4 separate regions of the Homo sapiens genome follow, and regions 1, 2 and 3 are each linked to region 4. The links are contacts of gene promoters, found by promoter capture Hi-C in blood cells and fetal thymus (Javierre and others, 2016). All regions are on one chromosome and are shown on one strand. The core of a region is centred on a gene start or on the middle of the fragment in contact, and the rest is flanking DNA. Distances in the headings are between cores, read along the strand shown.

What was found. Contacts are between HindIII fragments. The CHiCAGO score rates a contact against its expected background, and 5 or more counts as called.
Region 1: a contact is called between a fragment that was not itself captured here and the fragment with the promoter of LINC02412 in region 4, in 2 of 17 cell types (erythroblasts and M2 macrophages). The highest score is 6.3, in erythroblasts.
Region 2: a contact is called between a fragment that was not itself captured here and the fragment with the promoter of LINC02412 in region 4, in 1 of 17 cell types (endothelial precursors). The highest score is 5.6, in endothelial precursors.
Region 3: a contact is called between a fragment that was not itself captured here and the fragment with the promoter of LINC02412 in region 4, in 1 of 17 cell types (megakaryocytes). The highest score is 5.0, in megakaryocytes.

The regions. Positions count from the first base shown.
Region 1 is chr12:93,412,564-93,415,584 of GRCh38, reverse strand. The region is part of intron 1 of UBE2N (ubiquitin conjugating enzyme E2 N); the gene reads left to right. Among named protein-coding and RNA genes, the nearest start is that of UBE2N, 28 kb to the left of the region's middle. The HindIII fragment of the contact is 1,937 bases long and covers 428-2,364 here.
Region 2 is chr12:93,029,310-93,032,249 of GRCh38, reverse strand. All of the region lies in intron 3 of LOC643339 (a long non-coding RNA gene), which reads left to right. Among named protein-coding and RNA genes, the nearest start is that of LINC02413, 40 kb to the right of the region's middle. The HindIII fragment of the contact is 644 bases long and covers 1,124-1,767 here.
Region 3 is chr12:93,363,320-93,366,632 of GRCh38, reverse strand. All of the region lies in intron 1 of LOC643339 (a long non-coding RNA gene), which reads left to right. Among named protein-coding and RNA genes, the nearest start is that of NUDT4, 13 kb to the left of the region's middle. RefSeq lists a silencer at 2,304-2,373. The HindIII fragment of the contact is 2,664 bases long and covers 569-3,232 here.
Region 4 is chr12:93,172,844-93,176,186 of GRCh38, reverse strand. LINC02412 (long intergenic non-protein coding RNA 2412) reads right to left here and starts at 1,821. Exons shown (of 3, transcript NR_120492.1): 1 at 1,211-1,821; 2 at 158-287. The region is part of intron 3 of LOC643339 (a long non-coding RNA gene); the gene reads left to right. The HindIII fragment of the contact is 10,573 bases long and covers 1-3,343 here.

The DNA of each region.
Region 1 (3,021 bases), core at 147-2,646, 240 kb before region 4:
ATGAAGACCAGCCTCTTTTGTTCTGGTCACATGTTAAAGGACTTCCCAAGGTCAGAGGCTTCATTATTGCCTCTTGAGCTTTTTAATACTCTAAAAATGTTTTAGTTTGAACCTAAAGAACATGTCAGTTTCTCACTTGCTCTTACATCGCCATGATCAAAACAAAAAACTAGTCTTAAAATACCAGAGACATTACCTAAAATGGCCATGGGTTTAATTAACACATTTTGGGGAAGCATTTGATTTGTATTTACATCTTATGACTATTTCAGTATATTACTGTGCTGAGAGAGAAGTTATTTGTTGTTGTTGTTTTTAACGTATGCCCTGTAGCTTGTGGAATGAAACAGTTTATGATGTATTTTTTTTTAGGTGAAGGCAGTGTAAATAAAATGTTCTCATTTATTGTTTTTCATACCTAAAAGCTTATTTAAATATGAACATTTTTCTGGTTAAAAATAAATATAAGTAGAAGTTAGACTATTTTTCCCCATACCTGAGTGGCTCCTTTTGTTTTCCTTCCATAATGTGCACATCCTGCCTTGAAAATAACCCTGCCTTAATGATGTTAACGATGAAATTCTGATCGTTTATTTCCCTCTTTTCATAACATCAAATAGATTCAGAATTCAGTAAATATTAATTGAATATCTATTGTGCCAGGCAGTGTTCCAAATGCTGAGGATATAGCAGTCCATAAAATAGACTCAAATCCATCCTCTCATGGAGCTTAAATTCTGAACAAAATAAGTAGAAATGAGATTTGTTAGTAGTGCTGTGGAGATAAAGCCAGGGAGTGGGGATAGGGAGTGTGCAGGGTAGGGTTGAATGGGGTTTGCAATTTCAGTTATGATGGCTTCACTGAGAAAACATGAAGATCTTAGGAGCTGAGGGAGCAAGCCATATGGATATCTTGGGGAGGAAGAGGAAGTACAAAGCCCTTGAGGTGAGCGGATGCCTGGCACGTTGAAGAACTACAAGGAAGCTAATTTTTGTCTGGAACAGAGAAGGTTAGGGGATGGAGAGAGAACAGCTGAAGATAAGTCAGAGAGGTAGGTGGAGTGAGGGCATCATATAGAGCGTCTTTTGGGGGCCCATTACAAGGACTATGACTTTTTTTTTTTTTTTTTTTTTTTGAGACGGAGCTTCGCTCTTTTGCCTAGGCTGGAGAGCAATGGCATGATCGGGGCTCACCGCAACCTCCACCTCCGGGGTTCAAGCGATTCTCCTGCCTCAGCCTCCCAAGTAGCTGGGATTACAGGCATGCGCCACCATGCCTAGCTAATTTTATATTTTTAGTAGAGGTGGGATTTCTCCATGTTGATCAGGCTGGTCTCGAACTCCTGACCTGAGCCGATCCACCCGCCTCGGCCTCCCAAAATGCTGGGATTACAGGTGTGAGCCACCATGCCCAGACTTTTTTTGAGATGGAGTCTCGCCCTGTCACCCAGGCTGGAGTGCAATGGCACGATCTCAGCTCACTGCAACCTCCGCCTCCTGGCTTCAAATGATTCTCCTGCCTCAGCCTCCCGAGTAGCTGGGATTACAGGCACGTGCCACCATGCCCGGCTGATTTTGTATTTTTAGTAGAGATGGGATTTCTCCATGTTGATCAGGCTGGTCTCGAACTCCTGACCTGAGGTGATCCACCCGCCTCGGCCTCCCAAAGTGCTGGGATTACAGGCGTGAGCCACCGCACCCGGCTCAGGACTATGACTTTTAAAGGGTCTGTGGATAATAGACCTGCGAGGGAGGTAGTGAGGTCAGAAGCAGGAAGAACAGGTTAGGAGGCTGTTGTAGTATGCCAGGTCAGAGCTGATGGTTGCTTGGATCAGAGGTGTAGCAGTGGAATGGTGAGAAACAGTCCAATCATGAGTAGAATTTGAAGTATAAAAAAAACCAATTTGCCAATCAGGCTAGATGTGTGTGGCATATGAAGGAAAAGGTGGATCATTTGGAAAGATGGGTTTGCCAGTAACTGATGTGGGGAAGACTTTATGGGAGGAGCAAAGGTTGGGGATAGGGAGGTCATGTTAAGTTTGGGATGCTTATTAGACATTCAAGAGTGTATATCAAGCAGGTAGTTATAGAGGCAAGAGGCACGATGAGGGGAGAGGTCTGGGCTAGATATGAATTAGGGGAGGCTTCAGCTTATAGAGTGTGTTTAGTATTTAAATTCATTGCATTACATGAGATCACTGTGGAAATGTATAAACAGAGAGGAAGCCCTAGAATAGAGCCCCAGTGCATTTCAGTGTTGCGATGTTGGGAGATAGAAGAAACCAACAAGGAAACTAAAGGAAGCTGCTGCCAGACAAGGAGGAAGAGAGCCATGAGAATGTTTATAGGAAGTTAGATAAAGCTTTGCAAAGAGGAAGGAGACCAGCTGGATAAGATGTCGCATTTAGGTAAGATAAAGATTAAGCACTGGACATTTGATTTAACCTTGTGGAAATCATTGGTGACCTTAACAAACAAGTTAGCGATAACTACAGCTTGATTGGAGGGTATGTTCAAGACAGAAGAGGAGGAGAGAAATTGGAGACAAGCAAAGTAGAGGTTCCTCTTCAAAGACTTTCCTCCCCATCTAATTAGGAATAAATAGTAACTTCTCTTAGAAGCAAAATTTATTCGAAGACCTGTGCAAACATTCTTAAATATTTGCTAGCCATAATAAAGAAATCAATATACTTTATGTTCTTAGCTCCCACAATTTAGCCTAAATATTTGCCCTGGCATGCTTATACTGGTCCAAGCAAGCATTAGGTCATAGCCTGTTCCTCTTCCTTATTTAAAAGTGTTTTTACCTTTCTCAGCATTCCACAAGTTACTTCCTCCTTCCTTTGTTCCCCTCTACCTTTACCTCTTTTAAAAAGTTCTAAGTTGCTAGCCAGTCAGGACAAATACAGAATGTGAGATCCCGTTCCAGCCAGTGGAAACCGGACACAGCAGTAGGGTGGACGCGTCAGGTTATAAATGACCCTGTCTCCTTTGTTCAGTATACTCTTGTGGCAAAACTCC
Region 2 (2,940 bases), core at 196-2,695, 140 kb after region 4:
TGCATGCCTATAATCCCAGCTACTCGGGAGGCTGAGGTAGGAGAATTGCTTAAATCCAGGAGGCAGAGGCTGCGGTGAGCCAAGATGGTGCCACTGTACTCCAGCCTGGGCAACAGAGTGACATTTTGTCTCAAAAAAAAAATAATAAATAAATAAATAAATAAAATGGGTATAGTATTAGATATGCTATATTTCCCAATCATTAAAGCATTATTTAAAATGCAGCATCTGCAAAGGAACTAGAATACCCAAAACAATTTTTAAAAAGAACAAAGTTAATGGAATTATACTATCTGATTTTAGGACTTACTAGAAAAGCTAGAAAATCAGGACAGTGTGGTAGTGGCATAAGGACAGGTATGTGGATTAATGCAGCAGAGTTGAGAGTCCAGAAATAGACCTACACTAACATAGTCAATTGAGTTTTGATAAAGTGCCAAGGTAAGAAAAGAACAGCCATCAATAAATTATACTGGAATAACTGGATCTCTATATTAAGAAAGGTACCTTGACCTTTTCCTCACAGCATACACAAATTTCACTCAAAACAGAGAGTAGACCTAAATCTCAGAGCCAATACTATAAACCTTGTAGAATAACATATAGTAAAAAATCTTCGTAACCTTGGATTAGGGCAAGTTTCTTATGTAATAGATTACAAAAAGCATGAACTGTAAAAGAGAAATTGATAAATTGGGCTTCATAAAGAGTTAAAACATTAGCTTGTCAAAAGACACAATTCAGAAAATGAAAAGCTAAGCCATTAAGAGAAAATATTTGTAAAATATATATCTAACAAAGGATTTGTATCCAGATAACATTAATTTCTCTTACAACTTAAGAAAACAATCCAATAATATAATGAGAAAAATATTTGAATAGACAATGCACAAAAGAAAATACATGAACTGTCAAAAAATCACATGAAAAAATGCTTAGCATCATTAGTAATTACAGAACTGCAACTTAAAACCACAATGGGAGACCACTACACCCACACTAGAATAGCTAAGGTTAAAAATACTGGCAATAATAAGTGTTGGTGAGGCTATAGAGCAACTAGAAATCTCATACGCTGCTGTTGGCAATGGAAAACAATACAGATGTTTCAAAAAAAGAAGCTTCTTAAAATGTTAAACATACACTTACCGCCCAGTAATTCCACTCTTAGGTATTACCCAAGAGAAATGAGAAAATATGCCCACTGAAAGACATACATGAATGTTCATAACATCATTCCATAATAACACCGAACTGGAAACAATCTGAATGGCCATCAACTGATATATAGATAAAAAGAAAATGGTGATATACAGTTAAATATTAACAACTAAAAGGAATGGAGTTGATGGGGCTACAGGGCACAATACCCCCAAAATATGACTGTAGGAGACCAGAATATACCACCTCAAAATATGCTTTTTTGGCATAAGGATTATTTGAGGTGATTCTTCTGGGAAACAGCAGACACAGGAGAAGCTCTGAAAATGAGAGTAGAGGTTACCCTTTTGTAAGAGAAATGTACATCTATAAAGGAACTCTCCATTTGTAAGATTGTCTCCCTCTCTGTACCAGGAGGAAAGGATGGTAGATCACTAGACACTCTTGCCAATGGAGAAGGCATAGGCTTAAATCTGTACAACAAATCTAAACCTCGTTTATGGGGCTTTTCCTGGCCAGTTCCCCATAACTAGGCATTTCCCACACCCTTCTTTCTTTATTTCAGGGGACATGGTACATGACTGTAGTCTCAAGTGTAAGCAAGCTTTTGAGATCTACTCTGGCGATTTTATTCACTCTTCCCTGAGTATCTTCCACATATGCATAAGGTATACATGTGATTAATCTTCTGTTTGTTTTTCTCTTATTAATCTGTTTTTTGTTACAAGGGTCTGTTCCAATTAAGAACTCATGAAAGGTAGAGGAAAAATTATTTTTCCTCCTCTATAGAGTACTGATGCAACAATGTGGATGAATTTTAAAGGCACCAGGCTAAGTGAAAGAAGCCAAAAACAAAATACCATGTATAGTACTGTATGATTCCATTTACCTGAAATCGTTGTAGGGCTTTCTCCTTAGTTCAGCTAAGAGCCGGGTCATTGTCACACGGCCATGAAATATTAGGCCCACAGACACTTTGAAGGGTGAGAAAAATGGAATTTATTGGGTGAAAAGGAAAAAAAGGGCAAACAGGGACCCTCAGCAGAGTGAGAGTCCTGCTAGTAAAGGCTTCCGCCTCACAGATTGAATCCCGGGTTCCACCCAGGAAGAAGAAAGGCCAGGCTCCTCCCCCTGCAAATGGCACGAACTTCCCAAGGCTCCACCCCAGTGCGCACTCCTCCCGGGGAGCAGGCCGGTTGGAGTCTCTCTGGGGATCCCTTCCCACCTGGCTGTCTCAAAATATTTAATGAAAATCCTAAAAAGACAAAACTAAAGGGACAATAAATAGATTGTTTTTTTCCTGGGGCTGGGGATATGGACAGGAGTTGAATGCAAAGGGGCCTGAGGACAATTTCGGGGTTATGGCAGTGTTCCAAAATGTGATTGTGGTGGTGGTGGCATGACTATTTTCATTTACTAAAATCCATTCACACTTTAAGTTGGTGAAGTTTATTGTATATAAATTATTCTTCAATAAAGCTGTAAACAATGTTAATTCAAAATAAATACACACTTGGAGCTTACAGAAAGTAATTCTACAAAGCAAGACTTTGGCAGTTTCAGAGGACCAAGGAGAAGTTAGGAAGCAATACGGTAGGAAAATTTTTGAGGTTCATCCCAGAGAAACTTCAATTCATAATGGAACCCCAGAAATCCTAAGCCACATAGCACTTGAGTTGGGACACCCTGTCTGGAAACAGGCAGAAATGTCAGGCACAGAAATAGGTTTCCTATCACTCACGTAGAAATCTCGGTCAGAGGCCACAGGCTGTGGCTTCA
Region 3 (3,313 bases), core at 651-3,150, 190 kb before region 4:
AATGTGTCAGAGGAACACACCCTGGGCCAAAAAGATGAGACACCTGGGTTCTGGTGGCAATGCCTTCAGTCTCTTCATCGGTTTTCTTCTCTTTGAAGAAAATGGAAGTAGCAACATCTGGCCTACCCATCTCTCAGGGTGTTGTGAAGACACACTGTGATAAATAATGGGAAACATATTGGGCAAAACGTAGAATGAATCAAAATTTTTAGATAACTTTCTAAGAAAAGAATTGATTTAAATGAAAATCAAATGTAATATAATAATGCAGCATTCTATCTTCCCCAGATTGCTACAAAAGTTCAGGGACATGGGGCTTTAGGAAGACTATAAGTTCTACATCCCTTTAAAAGAATTCTCACAGCAGCGATTCCAGCCGTGTGAATTCTGTGAAATAACATCTGGCTGCCCACTCTAATGCTGGCAAAGTCTAAATAGCATAGAAAAAGAGGAACGATTTGGTGAAAAGACACTTAGAGTAGGCAGGAGATTACCGTTAGCAAATGGTTGTTTAAATTCTTTGTTTAAGCAAGTGTTCTGCCTAGAATTTAAGGATTTGTGGTAAGCTTACCAGAATCCAGTCACCATCAAAGGCAATGATGGCAGAGGAACTCTGCCAGGCACCACGTTAAGAGCCTGAGTTCTTCACCTCACGACATTTGCCATGTTTTTTCTCTTACCCCCAACATCATGTCTTTATACCACCTCTTGTATATTTATTCTCCTATTCAAGACTCCTTTCTTTCCTAAAGCCTTCCTAGAACAAGTCCAACCTTCACATCAGCATGTGTTTAAGAAATATATTATTCTTGGGAAAATTTCAGGGTATTTCCTGCTTTTGTCCATAATTCAGTGATATTGTACCTGTTTTTCTTGGCTGAAGGAAACCAATGACTAAAATACTTTTAAACTACTGCTGCCTATACCTTCTTTAAAGAGGTCTTATTTTCTCATTGCTGGTAGTGAGAGCTTTTAAAAGGTCGAAATCCATATTATTATTCCAAAATATGTTTAGTTAAAAACTAAATGCCTAGTAGTAGAAAAATGGTCATATAAGTAGGCCGGGCATGGTGGCTTACGCCTGTAATCCCAGCACTTTGGGAGGCCGAGGCAGGCGGATCACAAGGTCAGGAGATTGAGACCATCCTGGCTAACATGGTGAAACCCCGTCTCTACTAAAAATATAAAAAATTAGCCGGGCATGGTGGCGGGCGCCTGTGGTCCCAGCTACTCAGGAGGCTGAGGCAGGAGAATGGCATGAACCCAGGAGGCGGACCTTGCAGTGAGCCAAGATCATGCCACTGCACTCCAGCCTGGGCGACAGAGCAAGACTCTGTCTCAAAAAAAAAAAAAAAAAGAAAAGAAAAAAGAAAAATGGTTATATAAATTACAATATATACACTTCAAGGAGTTCTATGTAGCTATAAATAACAATGCTTACATAGTTTCTAAAAGCAAGGCAAGAGCTTGTTACAAAGTTAGATTTCTAAGTATTAAAGGTTGTATCACCTGGAGCAACGTGGCCAAACCCAAAACCCATCTCTAAAAAAACATACAAAAATTATGTGGGCATGGTGGCATATGCCTGTAGTCCCAGCTACTCTGGAGGCTGACGTGGGAGGATCCCTTGAACCCAGGAGGCAGTGAGCCTGGTTGTGCCACTGCACTCCAGCCTGAGTGACAGAGTGAGTGAGATTCTGTCTCAAAAAAAAAAAAAAAAAAAAAAGTTGTGAATACAATACAGTCCCAACTATATAAAGATCTTAATAGCAGAATTGACAAAATAGTTAATAATTTTTATTTTTGGGTTAACTATAGATTTTTTTCCTTATGCTTTCCTGTATTTCTCAAAATCATGTCATGTGCATGTTCATTTGTATTAGAATATCGTCTGTGTGTGTGTGTGTTCAGCCAGACATTAAGTAAATTGCTTTCAGATTGGTTAATAAGAATAAAAACAGTCAGGCGTGGTGGCTTGCGCCAGTAATCCCAGCACTTTGGGAGGCCAAGGCAGGCAGATTATTTGAACTCAGGAGTTCGAAACCAGCCTGGGTAACATGGCAAAACCCCATCTCTTCAAAAAAAAAAAATTAGCTGGGTGTTGTGGTGTGCACTTATAGTCCCAACTGCTTGGGAGGCTGAGGCTGGAGGACTGCTTGACCCTGGGAGGTCAGGGCTACAGTGTGCCATGATCACGCCACTACACTCTAGTCCCGGCACCTGAGCAAGACCCTGTCTCAGAAAAAAAAAAAAAAAAAAGGAAAGAATAAAAACACGTAAAATCTCAATAATAATGATAAAAAATATATAATATTCTGTGAGGAACTGGTGTAGAACGAATGAGTTCACTCCAGACCACTCAAGTTTAAGTTAAACCAGAGCTCAGCCTATTAGTCTACAAAGTAGGAAGTGGTGAGGTGACTCTAGCTTTGTGGTTAACTTCATTTAACCTCAGCCACTATAGACATAGATCCCTTGAAAGCCCCCCACGATTGGCCCACCCCTTCATCCTTCACTATCTCTTCCCTTTCCCACTTCCTATTCTACTTCTACAGTTCCTTGATGGCCTAAATCAATGGACAGAAAGGGAGGGGAAAAAAAAATGAGGCAGGTCAAACTTAAAGGCGTAGGAAAGATTCTCTTTTCCTTACTTCTATCTCTGCAGGCAGGAGAGGTCTTTTGGACAAGTTCTGAGAAATAGAACTATTTCATGTGGCTGGGAACTCAACTACCTTAGCCAATGGAGCTTGTGACCCAGTTGTGGGAGTGGAGTTGAGTTCTCTTTTATTTCTTTAAGTGATTTTTAAAAATGCACTGGAGCATGTGACCATTTCTTTTTTCTTTTTTTTTTCTGAACAACTAAAATTTTATGATAATGATTAATATCACCTCTAATATTTTGGGAACCTGATCAAGGCCTGAAGCAGTTTTTCTGGCCTAGGATTGTTGTACTATCACATTCAATACAGGTTTATTGATGAAGGCTAGCTAGGGACACAGGGCACATTTGGAGGTCCTCATAAAATCTCTATTAGCTCCTAAAGGACACTCTGAATTTTTTTTAAATGACATTTTGTGATGTAAACAATAATTTCTCAATCTTATTTAAAATGTTGGGGAGGAAAACTGTCTCTAGCCTTTGCCGTTTATTTTGTAACATACAATTTGTGCCATTATAAGACAGGCCCCCTAAGTACTACTTGCAGAGAAGGAAAATAAATATTTGCAAGCTTGGAAAGAACAACAATAACAGATGCATGTCCAGGGTATAACTCTTCCCGGGGCTCCACAAAGGCTGGCAGATGAGGTCTTG
Region 4 (3,343 bases), core at 572-3,071:
CAACACAAATATTCTACAAGAGTGGATTGCCATTTATGTTATTGCTGTATAATAAAGTCATCATGCTAATATGCCTTATTTTTCATGGAGATTCTTTTTGCTAATCAAGCACATTCCCTTTTTATTGGTCACATACCGATACATGAGAAGTTGTTACCTTGATAACATTTACCAGCATTCAGGCTGGTCAGCCTTGGTTCTGGCTTTTCTCGCTGTCCTTTCCAGGCTGGTTTGGATACCATTCAGTGTTTTCTTTTTGGTTCATGGGAGTTCAGCAACCCAATAACCTTGAGAAAAGAGAAATGAGAAATGGAACCAGTTCATCTTAGGCTAAAAGATTCATTTTGACAGAGTAATTTTTTTTCCCTAGGATAAGAAATTACTGTGTCATTCCAAATGCATAGATACTACTGTGCCAAAGTGCTGCAGAGAGTTTCATGCTGAACTTTTTTAAGAAAATTAATTGGATGTTAATGAAAGTTTGGGGCTGGTAGAATTCAAGGGAGAAGTACTCTGTTTTTTATCACCACTTCCCAAAATTATATAGTTGAAGGCTCTTATAATGATTACAAAAATAGTAACCCCCACTTGCTTGTGCTAGACAGAATATAAAGCAGTTTCACAACATTTCTGCGTTGAATTAGAGTAATCCTCCTGGTATCTGAAGACCTCCTCTGAGCCCAGTGTATGCTGGCATTGCCACCAGAATCTTAGGAGTGAGGCCTTTGGCCAGGCTTGGGGGTTCTAATAAATTTAGCATATGGGCCAGGCGCGGTGGCTCACACCTGTAATCCCAGCACTTTAGGAGGCCAAGGTGGACAGGTCACTTGAGGTCAGGAGTTCGAGACCAGCCTGGGCAGCATGGTAAAACCCCATCTCTACTAAAAATACAAAAATTAGCCGGGTGTGGTGGTGTGTGCCTGTAATCCCAGCTACTCAGGAGGCTGAGGCAGGAGAATCGCTTGAACCCAGGAGGCAGAGGTTGCAGCGAGCTGAGATTGTGCTACTGCACTCCAGCCCGGGTGACAGAGCGAGACTCTGTCTCAAAAAAATAAAAATAATAAATAATAAATTTAAAAAAGCATAGCATATGGAACACTCTTCTGGAATCAGTGTCTGTAACAGAAAAAAAGAAAAGAAAAATTTGAAGTTGCAATTACTCAGATGGGTTTGTGGACACTGGAAAGGAGATGAGGAACCTACACATCACCTTATTTCCAGGAGAAGGTGGGTGGCGGATTCATGCTTGTTCTCAATCGTAGCGGTTGTTTGGACTCAGTAGGAGTATTTGCTGTGAAGTCTGTCATATGAAGGAAAAAATCAGGGGTGCAACATTGCGGCCAGAAAAAATTGGATGGTGTCATTTCCAGTCACCAAGGTGGGCCGTCAGCACAGATAAGACGTGTGTGTCTGGAGTTTGCTCTTTTACATGTGCGCTGTGACAGGCTTCTTGCTTCTGTCACATGACTCCCAGCTGGAGAGGATGATGAGGGGAGAGCCCAAGCTACACCAATAACTCTCAGTGCCAGTTCCTGCTGTTTCGTCATTGTCTCCCCATCACAGCTGTACCAAGGCCACTTCTGGTTGCCTTCTTGCTTCTCCAACTGCTTTTCTCTGGTTTCTTCCTTGGCTTCTCTTTCTGAAATTGTCACTTAAATGTTGACATACCCAGACTGTGCCCTTTGGCACTTATCTATTCTCACTTTACCTACACTCCCTGGACAATCACCTCCATTCCCATGGCTTCAATTACCGTCTCTACTACTGGCAGCTCTCAAATGAAATCTACATCTCCAGCCCAGAACTTGTTCTGTGGTTCCCTAGATGTCTCAGAATCAGTGTGTTTGAACCTAGCTCATGATGCTCCCACCCCCACAAACTATGCCTGCTCCTGAGATCTTGTCTATGTAATAGTGGCCAAGATTTACTGTGCTTGTGATATTCCAGGCTCCGTTCCAAGCATTTGACATACTTTACCTCATTTAACCTTTTCCAGAGCCCTGTACAGAAGATACAATTATTATCCCTCTCTTATACTCTGAGGCACCCAGTGAATCGGTGCCTTGCCCCAGGTTCAACAGCTAGCTGTGGACAGAGCCAGACTTTGAATGCAGGCTGTTGAAACTGTAGCCCATGCTTCTAATCACTCGGCTGGGCTGCTTGCTGTTGTACATTTACCCAAGTCAAAAACTGGAGCATCATTTTTGATGTCATCTTCTCCCCTGGCTCCCACATCCAATCCAATGCCAATCCAGTTCCTTTTACCTCCTGAATAACTTGAGCCTTTCTTTCTTTTTCTTTTTTTTTTTTGCTCCTGGGTCACTACTATAGTCCAAGCTATTATCTCTTGCCTGGGCACTCACGATGGCTTCCTAACAGCTCTTCCTGCTGTTCTCTCATCTCTCCTTTCCACCCCATCTATTTTCCATACTGCAGCCAAAGAAACCTCTCTAAAACATAAATTCAAATGTGTCACTTCAGTAAAATGCTCCAATGGTTCCCCATTGTCAGGGCAAAGTCTGGACTCCAATATGCCTAAAAAGGTATGCTCTGGGCTCTGTTTTCTCCAGCCTCATCCTTCTCCCTGACTCCATCCCCTCCCCTTGCTCTGTTAGCATGCCCCGTCTTCCTGTGTTTCTTCCCTTTCCTGGCTCCCGGAAGGCCCCCTTCTCTCTCTTACCTCTTGGCCACTTAGTTGTCTGATCCCTTTGCCTATGATACAGTTTGGATACTTGTCTCCTTCAAATCACATGTTGAAATTTGATCCCCAGTGTTGAAGGTGGGGTCTCGTGGGGGGTGTTTTGTCATGAGGGCAGATGGCTCATGAATGGCACGGTGCCATTCTTGTGGTAATCAGTGAGTTCTTACTCTTAGGTCCCACAAGATTTGGTTGTTAAAAAGAGTCTGGCTCCTCCTTCTCTTCTGCTTGCTCCCTTCCTCTCTCACCAAGTGATCTCTGCACACACCAGCTCCCCTTCATGTTCCACCATGAGTGGAAGCAGCCTAAAGACCTCACCAGAAACAGATGCTGGCGCCATGCTTCTTGTACAGCCTGCAGAATCATGAGCCAAAGAAATCTCTTTTCTTTGTAAATCACCCAGCCTCAGGTCTTTCTTGATAGCAACACAAAGGGACTAAGACAGCTCGAATGTCCTTCCATCTTCTCTGCACCTGCTTGAGTCTTATTCATTCTCAAAGGCTTTGGGGATCTCCTCTCTGGGGTCTAGAAAGGGACTTTGGTGCCTTGGCTGTGTGTTACAGTATGGCTGTCACTCTGTGTGCCATGGTTTGTCCCAAGCACGTTAAATATATTAACTCATTTAATTTTGCAAAAACCATATGA